Linked DNA regions of Homo sapiens: region 1 is linked to region 2. Evidence: promoter capture Hi-C in 16 types of primary human blood cells and fetal thymus (Javierre and others, 2016). All regions are on one chromosome and are shown on one strand. The core of a region is centred on a gene start or on the middle of the fragment in contact, and the rest is flanking DNA. Distances in the headings are between cores, read along the strand shown. Region 1 overlaps DOCK4 (dedicator of cytokinesis 4). Region 2 holds the start of TMEM168 (transmembrane protein 168).

Region 1 (3,641 bases), core at 126-2,625, 1.1 Mb after region 2:
TCCTTTACTACATCTTTAGGAGTTCTCTGCTTGTATGCAAGCCAGTCCTGTCCATTTTCCTAATGGAAGCCCTCGTGTGTGTAGAAACTCAGCACCTGCTTCTGTGAGCCCAGATGGTACCAGGGTAATTCCTAGACGCAGGTAAGTCATATTCCAAATTATCTTACAATTTGGCCTCACCCGCAAGCTGATCTGGAATGGTTCTCTCATTCTTTATGGCACAATTTGTCAAATACGCTATTTCTTAATGAAATAACTAACCCGCGAGGCAGCTGCAGACCTCTGCCACCAGTAAAACAGCAACAGCATGAGAAATAAATAAACTCAAACATTTGATTATATTGAGGCAAACAGGAGAAAACAAAACGGAATGTATTTTCCCCCCTTTGGTTTCATAGCATTCTAGCACATGATAAAGTACAATTTGGAGACTGAGTTAATGACCTTTTTTTTCCCCCTGAAACAGCCCGTTAAGTTACCCAGCTGTCAACCGATATTCTTCCTCCTCACTGTCCTCACAAGCTTCTGCTGAAGTAAGCAATATTACAGGGCAATCAGAAAGCTCTGATGAAGTCTTTAACATGCAGGTACTTAATTAGCTTTTTGTCTGGTTGTGTTTATTCCTTTTCTGTCTCAATCATGAGTGTTTCTGTTCATTCTGCTGTGCTGATGAACAGACCAACAAGCAAGAACTTGGCTTAAGGACAAACCTTTAAACACTCTTCTTGCTTTATGGGTCTCTAGAGTCTACAAAGACGTTTCTCTTAAAACTGCCCCATCGCTTTAAGACGACATCAGCAAGCGATGGAAAAGCCTAGGCACGCTGCACAAGGTTCAGCTCTGAGACCTGCCCCAAGTTCCTTCTGCAGTCCAGGACTCTCAGAGTGTGTTGCCACTCACTAGCTGCCTCTTAGCTTGCCTTTTTTTTTTTTTTTTTTTTTTTTTTTTTTTAGCGAGTCTCACTCTGTCTCCCAGTCTGGAGTGCAGTGGTGCGATCTTGGCTCACTGCAACCTCCGCCTCCCGGGCTCAGGCAGTTTTCGTGCCTCAGCCTCGTGAGTAGCTGGGATTACAGGTGTGTACCACCACGCCCGACTAATTTTTGTATTTTTAGTAGAGACGGGGTTTCACTATGTTGGCCAGGTTGGTCTCGAACTCCTGACCTCAAGTGATCTGCCCAATTTGGCCTCCCAAAGTGCTGGGATTACAGGCATGAGCTACTGCGCCCGGCCCCTCTTAGCATTCCAAAATGGCTTTTTTTTTCTTTAAGAAGACATGATTTGGCTAGGTGCAGTGGCTCATGCCTGTAATCCCAACACTTTGGGAGGCCGAGGTGAGCGAATCACCTTGAGATCTGGAGTTCGAGACCATCCTGGCCAGCATGGTGAAACCCCGTCTCTATCAAAAATACAAAAATTAGCCGGGCATGGTGGCGCATGCCTGTAATCCCAGCTACTCGGGAGGCTGAGGCAGGAGAATCGCTTGAACCTGGGAGGAGGAGGTTGCAGTGAGCCGAGAGCATGTCACTGCACTCCAGCCTGGGCAACAAAGCGAGACTGTGTCTCAAAGAAAAAAGAAAAAAAGACATGATTTGAGGGTCTGTTTTAAAATTATCTTTACTTATGTACATATCAGAAAGTTTCCAAAGGTATTTTTTTTATACAAGAAAAATGTAGTTTTTAGGGATTTTAGAGCCAGTATAACTCCTGCAAGCAAACATTTTATTTAAACACTACTAATATGGCATTTATGATAGTTCAGTAAGACTAAGCTGAAATTTTCCTCACCACTATCTTTGGAAAGGAGACATAACACTTATTTCCAAATTCATGCTTTGAACATACTTGTACAGATAACAAGAAGGCATATTTTATGCCTTTTAGACGCACTCGCCTGTTTTTGGGCCCTAGGCTGGAAGTCATTCTACTTATACCTCAATGAAGGAATGCACTGCTAACTGGTACGAAGTCACAGTGTATAGCTGAATCTAACACGAAGGCATTCCTTTGGCAGGAGTCAAAATCTCAGACTTTTCATTAATTCATGCAGACTTCTTTGTCAATCTAAGTTATTAAGATTTTCTATATTGTTAAACGGACTTTTTGTTGCTAATTTGAAAAAAAGTTGATGATTTTGTTTCAAATACGTCAGTGTCGTGGGAAGCCTTTAATCAGGGTATGATAATAGCTCCCTGTGTGTTTCCAGCCAAGTCCATCTACCTCAAGCTTGAGTTCTACTCACTCGGCTTCACCTAATGTGACAAGTTCTGCTCCATCGAGTGCCAGAGGTCAGTGCCAGAGTGTGGGGAAGACTGAGGGTGCCCAGAGAACCTTCTAGTCCTGGGAACTGTGGCCAGCTGCCACACGTTCAGGCTCTCGCCTCCAAACAGGTGCAGCACCACTACCATGCTGATGATCCTCTCTCTCCTTCTCTTCCCAGCTTCTCCTTTGTTGTCTGACAAACACAAACATTCCCGAGAAAACTCTTGCCTGTCACCAAGAGAGAGACCATGCAGTGCCATCTATCCAACACCTGTGGAGCCTTCGCAGGTACTCCTTGTAGGGTAGAGAAACTAGAAAACAAGGACAATTCTGGAATTGCTTACCTATCTCTGCAGAAACACGCGGTAGCTGCCAAAAGCAAGCAGCTGGGCAGTGTCAGACCAATCCAGCTGGTGAAGATTGCACCTCTGTTTTCTGCCCATGGTTAGAAATTTCTGCCTGAGCCATCTTTTTTTTTTTTTCTTTGAGACAGGATCTCGCTGTCACCCAGGCTAGAGTGCAGTGGCACAATCCTGGCTCACTGCAACCTCCACCTCCTGGGTTCAAGCAATTCTCCTGTCTCAGCCTCCCGAGTAGTTGGGATTATAGGTGCCCACCACCACACATGGCTAATTTTTGTATTTATAATAGAAATGGGGTTTTGCCATGTTGGCCAGGCTGGTCTCGAACTCCTGACCTCAGGTGATCCACCTGCCTTGGCCTCCCAAAGTGCTGGGATTACAGGCATGAGCCACCACTCCCGGCCCTGAGCCATATTTCTGATAGGGACACATGGTAGTTGCTTGGCAGTGATGCTAAAAGGGAAATGGGAAGTTTACCCTCCTTGATCTATTTCATTGCTGCTTCTTAAACATTATGCAAAGTAGTTGGGTGAATAAAGTGCCTGTGTTTGCATGCCCTGTGTATGTAACAGAAGTCTGGGGGAACCTCTTAAACTAGGAAAATACCCTTGAAGAGAAGCATTCTCCTGCCCAGCAGTCTTTGCCTTTGCCTAGACCTATTTAAAAGAGCTGCAATCGATTCCTATCTGGGTACCCATGAGTATAGGAGCAATTTGTTTGCCTTTGCCATTCTTGAATGCATGAGAAAAGAGCGGTTCAGTCCTCAGCCTTTCCCTGTCAACTGCTCATGCGAGTAAGGGAGCTTGGCCCTCACCCCCTGCCTGAACTTGGTTTTGAAGTGATCCCTGTTTTTCTGAGAGCAGAGGCTTGGGCTCAGCCCTTGGGCACTTCAGGAGCCTTGAAGGGTGGTTTCAAAGTTGAAGATTCATGGGTAGCCCTGAGTTTTAAAGATTTGGGAATAGTTTAGGAGCAGAGAAAAATAGTTATTTCTACTCCAGCTAATTTCTGTTTTTCTACACC
Region 2 (3,906 bases), core at 900-3,399:
TCAAATGCTAATTACCCACCCTGGGCTGTGCAGATTAACTTTCAAACATACACACATCTCACTGAAGTATTCTAAAGTATAAGGACAAGATAACAAGCATCAAAAATGGTTTTAAAGTCATAAGGCAGAAGACCATGTTAGAGGAAGATGATGAAAAACCACTGATTTAGTGAGCTGGTCTTAGTGCTAAGCAACTGAATGCAGCTGTAGCTAATTTAAGCAGAAAGTAAGTTTACTAGAGGACGCTAAGTAGTTCAAAGGATAGCTGGAGATTGAGGCTTGCACCTACATGGCCAGAATCTACCTTGGCTGTTACCGGTGGAAGGTGTCCAGGTTCTTGGCATCTTGAACAAGGAATTAGACAAAACGCACAAACAAAGCAAGGAAGGAATGAAGCAACAAAAGCAGAGATTTATTGAAAATGAAAGTACACTCCACAGGGTGTGAAGAGCCGGAACATGGGGCTCAAGAGCGGGGCGGCCGGGTTATAGAATTTTCTGGGGTATAAACACCCTCTAGAGGTTTCCCATTGGCCACTTGGTGTACACCCCACGCAAATATAGTGGCCCACAATCAGTCTGATAGCGGAAAGCAACCAATCAGAGCCTGAAGCGAAGTTACAAAGGTTACACCCTATGCAAACATTTAATTAGTTATGGAAAGCAACCAATCCGAGGTACTTTCAATTTTCCGTCTGCCACGCAGAAAAGGGCGGTGGTGGGGGAGGGGGCCGGGTCCCTTTGTTACTTAGCTGTGGAAAGTTGGGGCTTTCCTTTTGATTTAGTTCTAGAAAGTCAGCATGAATCAGCCGTAAGTTCCTTGCCTCCAGACCCTATTGTCCTGCCTCACAGCTATGTAGTACAGAGTCTGTCACAGGCTACCCAGAAATGTACACAGAGACTGTTAACAGGCTACAGAACAGATTGGGAAAGGGCTCTGGGGTTGTGACCCTCACCAAGCACAGGCATCTTGCATCTCTGACATGTTAATGGTGGATGCCAGCACTCTCACTACTGCCTCGGAAGCTTACCTTGCTGTTAGGGATGGGTTCTCGATCTCTACACTTGCTATACTCCTACAGGTGACCTGGGAGTGTAGCTTTCTGTGCCTTTTTTGACTCATGGCTTCCAGCGGGTACACATGATTAGTTAAACAAGTGTTCAGCATTTCAGCGGCAGCCATTAGACTCTTAACTCAGGTGGGGAATTCTCCAAATACGGAAGGGGATTCAAATGGGGGGCATAATAAATGTATATAAATGTCCATTAAAGGCAAGTTGAGTTGGAAGTGATGACAATATATTTGAGTAGAAACATCTAGCAGGTAGTTGGAAATGTGGCACTCGTGTTCCCCAGAGAGCTAGTTACAGATTTGGGAAGTTGAGTTGTGATTGCTTTTAAAATCAGGAGTCTAGAGAGAATCTAACTCAAAATTTTCATCCACATATGCAGAATCTCAATCTGAGAGTTGTTCATTCCTATAGATGTGCTGGCCACACCAACCCCCAACATCTATTATGAAAATTAGGAAATTCACACTCTATTATGGAAAATAGGAAAAATATATAGATAATACATGCAAAACAAGTGGGAGGAGAGAACTACGGATCGTGGAGAGCCTATTGCATATTATTATTTTACAAATATTTAAGTGCCAACTATGTGTCAGGCACTATGCTAAGGTGATTTAATGTTGAGCAAAACCCGACATGTCCCTGCATTTGAGGAACTGAAAGGTCTGAGGGAGGGCCTAAGGAGCTTGGGCCTTAGCTGGTTACAAAGCCATATATTATGCCATATATATTAATGAGCAGCAACGCCTCCCGCAGTATTTACAGCCCACGCGTGGCAGTCCTGTCCACCCTGTCCCCGTTCGGTCCAGCCCGAGGCGGTGGCCTAGATGCTTGATGGGCACTGTCAGCCTGATCTTTGGTGGTCTTCCCGCTGTCTGTTCTCAGCTGCTGATTCCAGGTCCCAGGAGTCGACTTTGGCTTGAGGAAGGCAGGCGCCTTAGGTGGGGCAGTTGACACTCGCGCAGCGCCTTGCTCACCTGAGTGTGTGGCGGCGCGCGGGTTTGGGCGGGGAGGGGGCCGGGCCTCGGGAAGGAGGCGCGCCGCGCAGTTTGACCCCGGCGGCGTTCCGTACCGTCGCGGATTTCGGCGGCGGAAACATGGCGGTCGCGGCCGGGCCGGTAACGGAGAAAGTTTACGCCGACACTGGCCTGTATTAGCGCGTATGGCCTCGGGCCCTCGTTCCCCAAGGCGTGCCGCCTCCCTGTTCTCAGTCGCAGGCTGAAGCCTTGTCTGCTCTCCTCCTTTTTGGTTTGGTTTTGGAACTGACTCCGAGGGTTGGGAGAGCGCGTTGGTGGCGACGGCCGAGTCAGGTAGGGAGAAATGGGTGGACGGCAGGGCGGCGAGATCTAGGCATAGACACTGCCAGGGCTCCGCGTGGTCCGGACCCCAAGCTCCGCCCAGTCGGCCTCCCAGGGCCGGGGTAGGATACCTGCCTCTGGAGGAGTTGACAGTGGTGGTTGGAGATTGGAGGGTGTGGGAGCGCCTCTCCGTATTTCGCAAGGGTTCCCCCTCAACTGGGCGCCACGTTGTGGTCGCGTTCTCCGAGGCAGAGGATGGTGGAGAACAGCCAAGCTCCTTGTCGGACCTCCCACATCTCGCTAGAAGGAGGCCGAAAGGGAGAGAAATTGCTGTTGCTGCTCTAGTGCTGAGGAGTTTGATATTCTAGATGACATTTTCCTCGTATGAGATGGCTCAAAGAGTTATCAGTAATTCAGAACTGAAGCACTGAAATTCCCTGTTTTTTCAGTGTAGTTCTTTCAGCCTTGACACTTCTAGATGGGACAGAGTTTCTGAGTGAAAGATAATGCAAGTGATACGGTATGCCTCAAGCCATTCCCTAGAGGTAGGACATGGAGAGAGAATTGGTTTGGAAGAATTTGGGTGAATTAAGTAAAGACTGGTGGAAAGCTGAAATAGAAACCAAACATTCATGGACTCTCCCTTAGTTCTACTAGTTATTAGTTGTGGGATATAGCTAAGTTCTGTATTCTCTTTAGGCATTAGTAAGTGTCCAATGGTGACTATTGTTGTTAAATGTAGTTATTTCTTTATTAGTCTTTATTTTTCAACAAGTATTTATTGAATACCTTCTTGATGCCGGATTTTTGCTAGTCACTGGGTGTACAGTATTGAAGACAAACCCTCAGAGACCTTTTGATCTAGTGGGAAATGCAGACATGAAATAAGTGATGGTATGTAACAGAGAAAGTATGGGGGTCATGTAATGGGGAGGGGGCAGGGATAATCTCTTAAGAAAATGATTTATCTGAGACCTGAAGAGTTGGAATAAGCCAGGTGTGAGCACTGGGGTGGGGCCAGGAGGAGGAAAAGGAGTGTACCTGGCAAGGGAATAGCATTTGTGCAGTTTGTAATTGAAAGGTCAGTAAGGTTGGAAAATAAAGTGTGAGAGGAAAACTGGTAACAGATAAGGCAGGAGAGTTATTCAGGCCCAACACGGAGTGCCTTATAAGGCACTGTAAGGAGTTTTGACTTTATTGCTAAGGGTGATGGGACGCCATTGGAGCATTTTACATAGTGGAGTGCTAAATTTTGGTTTTAAAAAGTACACTTCTTAGAGAGGGCAAGAGTGGATACAGGGAAATGTTCAACATGATGGTGGCCAAAATTGGGATGGTGACCCTGGGGACGAGAAGTAGAAACATTTAAAAAATGTTTAGGAAGAATAGTAGACAGGACTTGGTGAGGATTAAATGTAGATGATGGTGGAGAGGAGGGTTAGAATAGTATGTAAGGTTTTATGAAATAATCAGACTCTGGCAGTGATTGGTTAGCTTTTCCCATATGCATATTGACTCCTCTATGGTCCATTTTCA

What was found. The method cuts DNA at HindIII sites, captures the fragments that hold promoters and counts their contacts. A CHiCAGO score of 5 or more calls a contact.
Region 1: a fragment that was not itself captured here is called in contact with the fragment with the promoter of TMEM168 in region 2 in 1 of 17 cell types (fetal thymus); the score reaches 5.2 in fetal thymus.

The regions. Positions count from the first base shown.
Region 1 is chr7:111,738,040-111,741,680 of GRCh38, reverse strand. It overlaps DOCK4 (dedicator of cytokinesis 4), which reads left to right. Exons shown (of 53, transcript NM_001363540.2): 46 at 20-141; 47 at 467-587; 48 at 2,204-2,285; 49 at 2,438-2,547. Among named protein-coding and RNA genes, the nearest start is that of DOCK4-AS1, 69 kb to the left of the region's middle. The HindIII fragment of the contact is 1,701 bases long and covers 525-2,225 here.
Region 2 is chr7:112,788,636-112,792,541 of GRCh38, reverse strand. TMEM168 (transmembrane protein 168) reads left to right here and starts at 2,149. Exons shown (of 5, transcript NM_022484.6): 1 at 2,149-2,382. RefSeq lists an enhancer at 1,761-1,890. The HindIII fragment of the contact is 5,754 bases long and covers 1,028-3,906 here.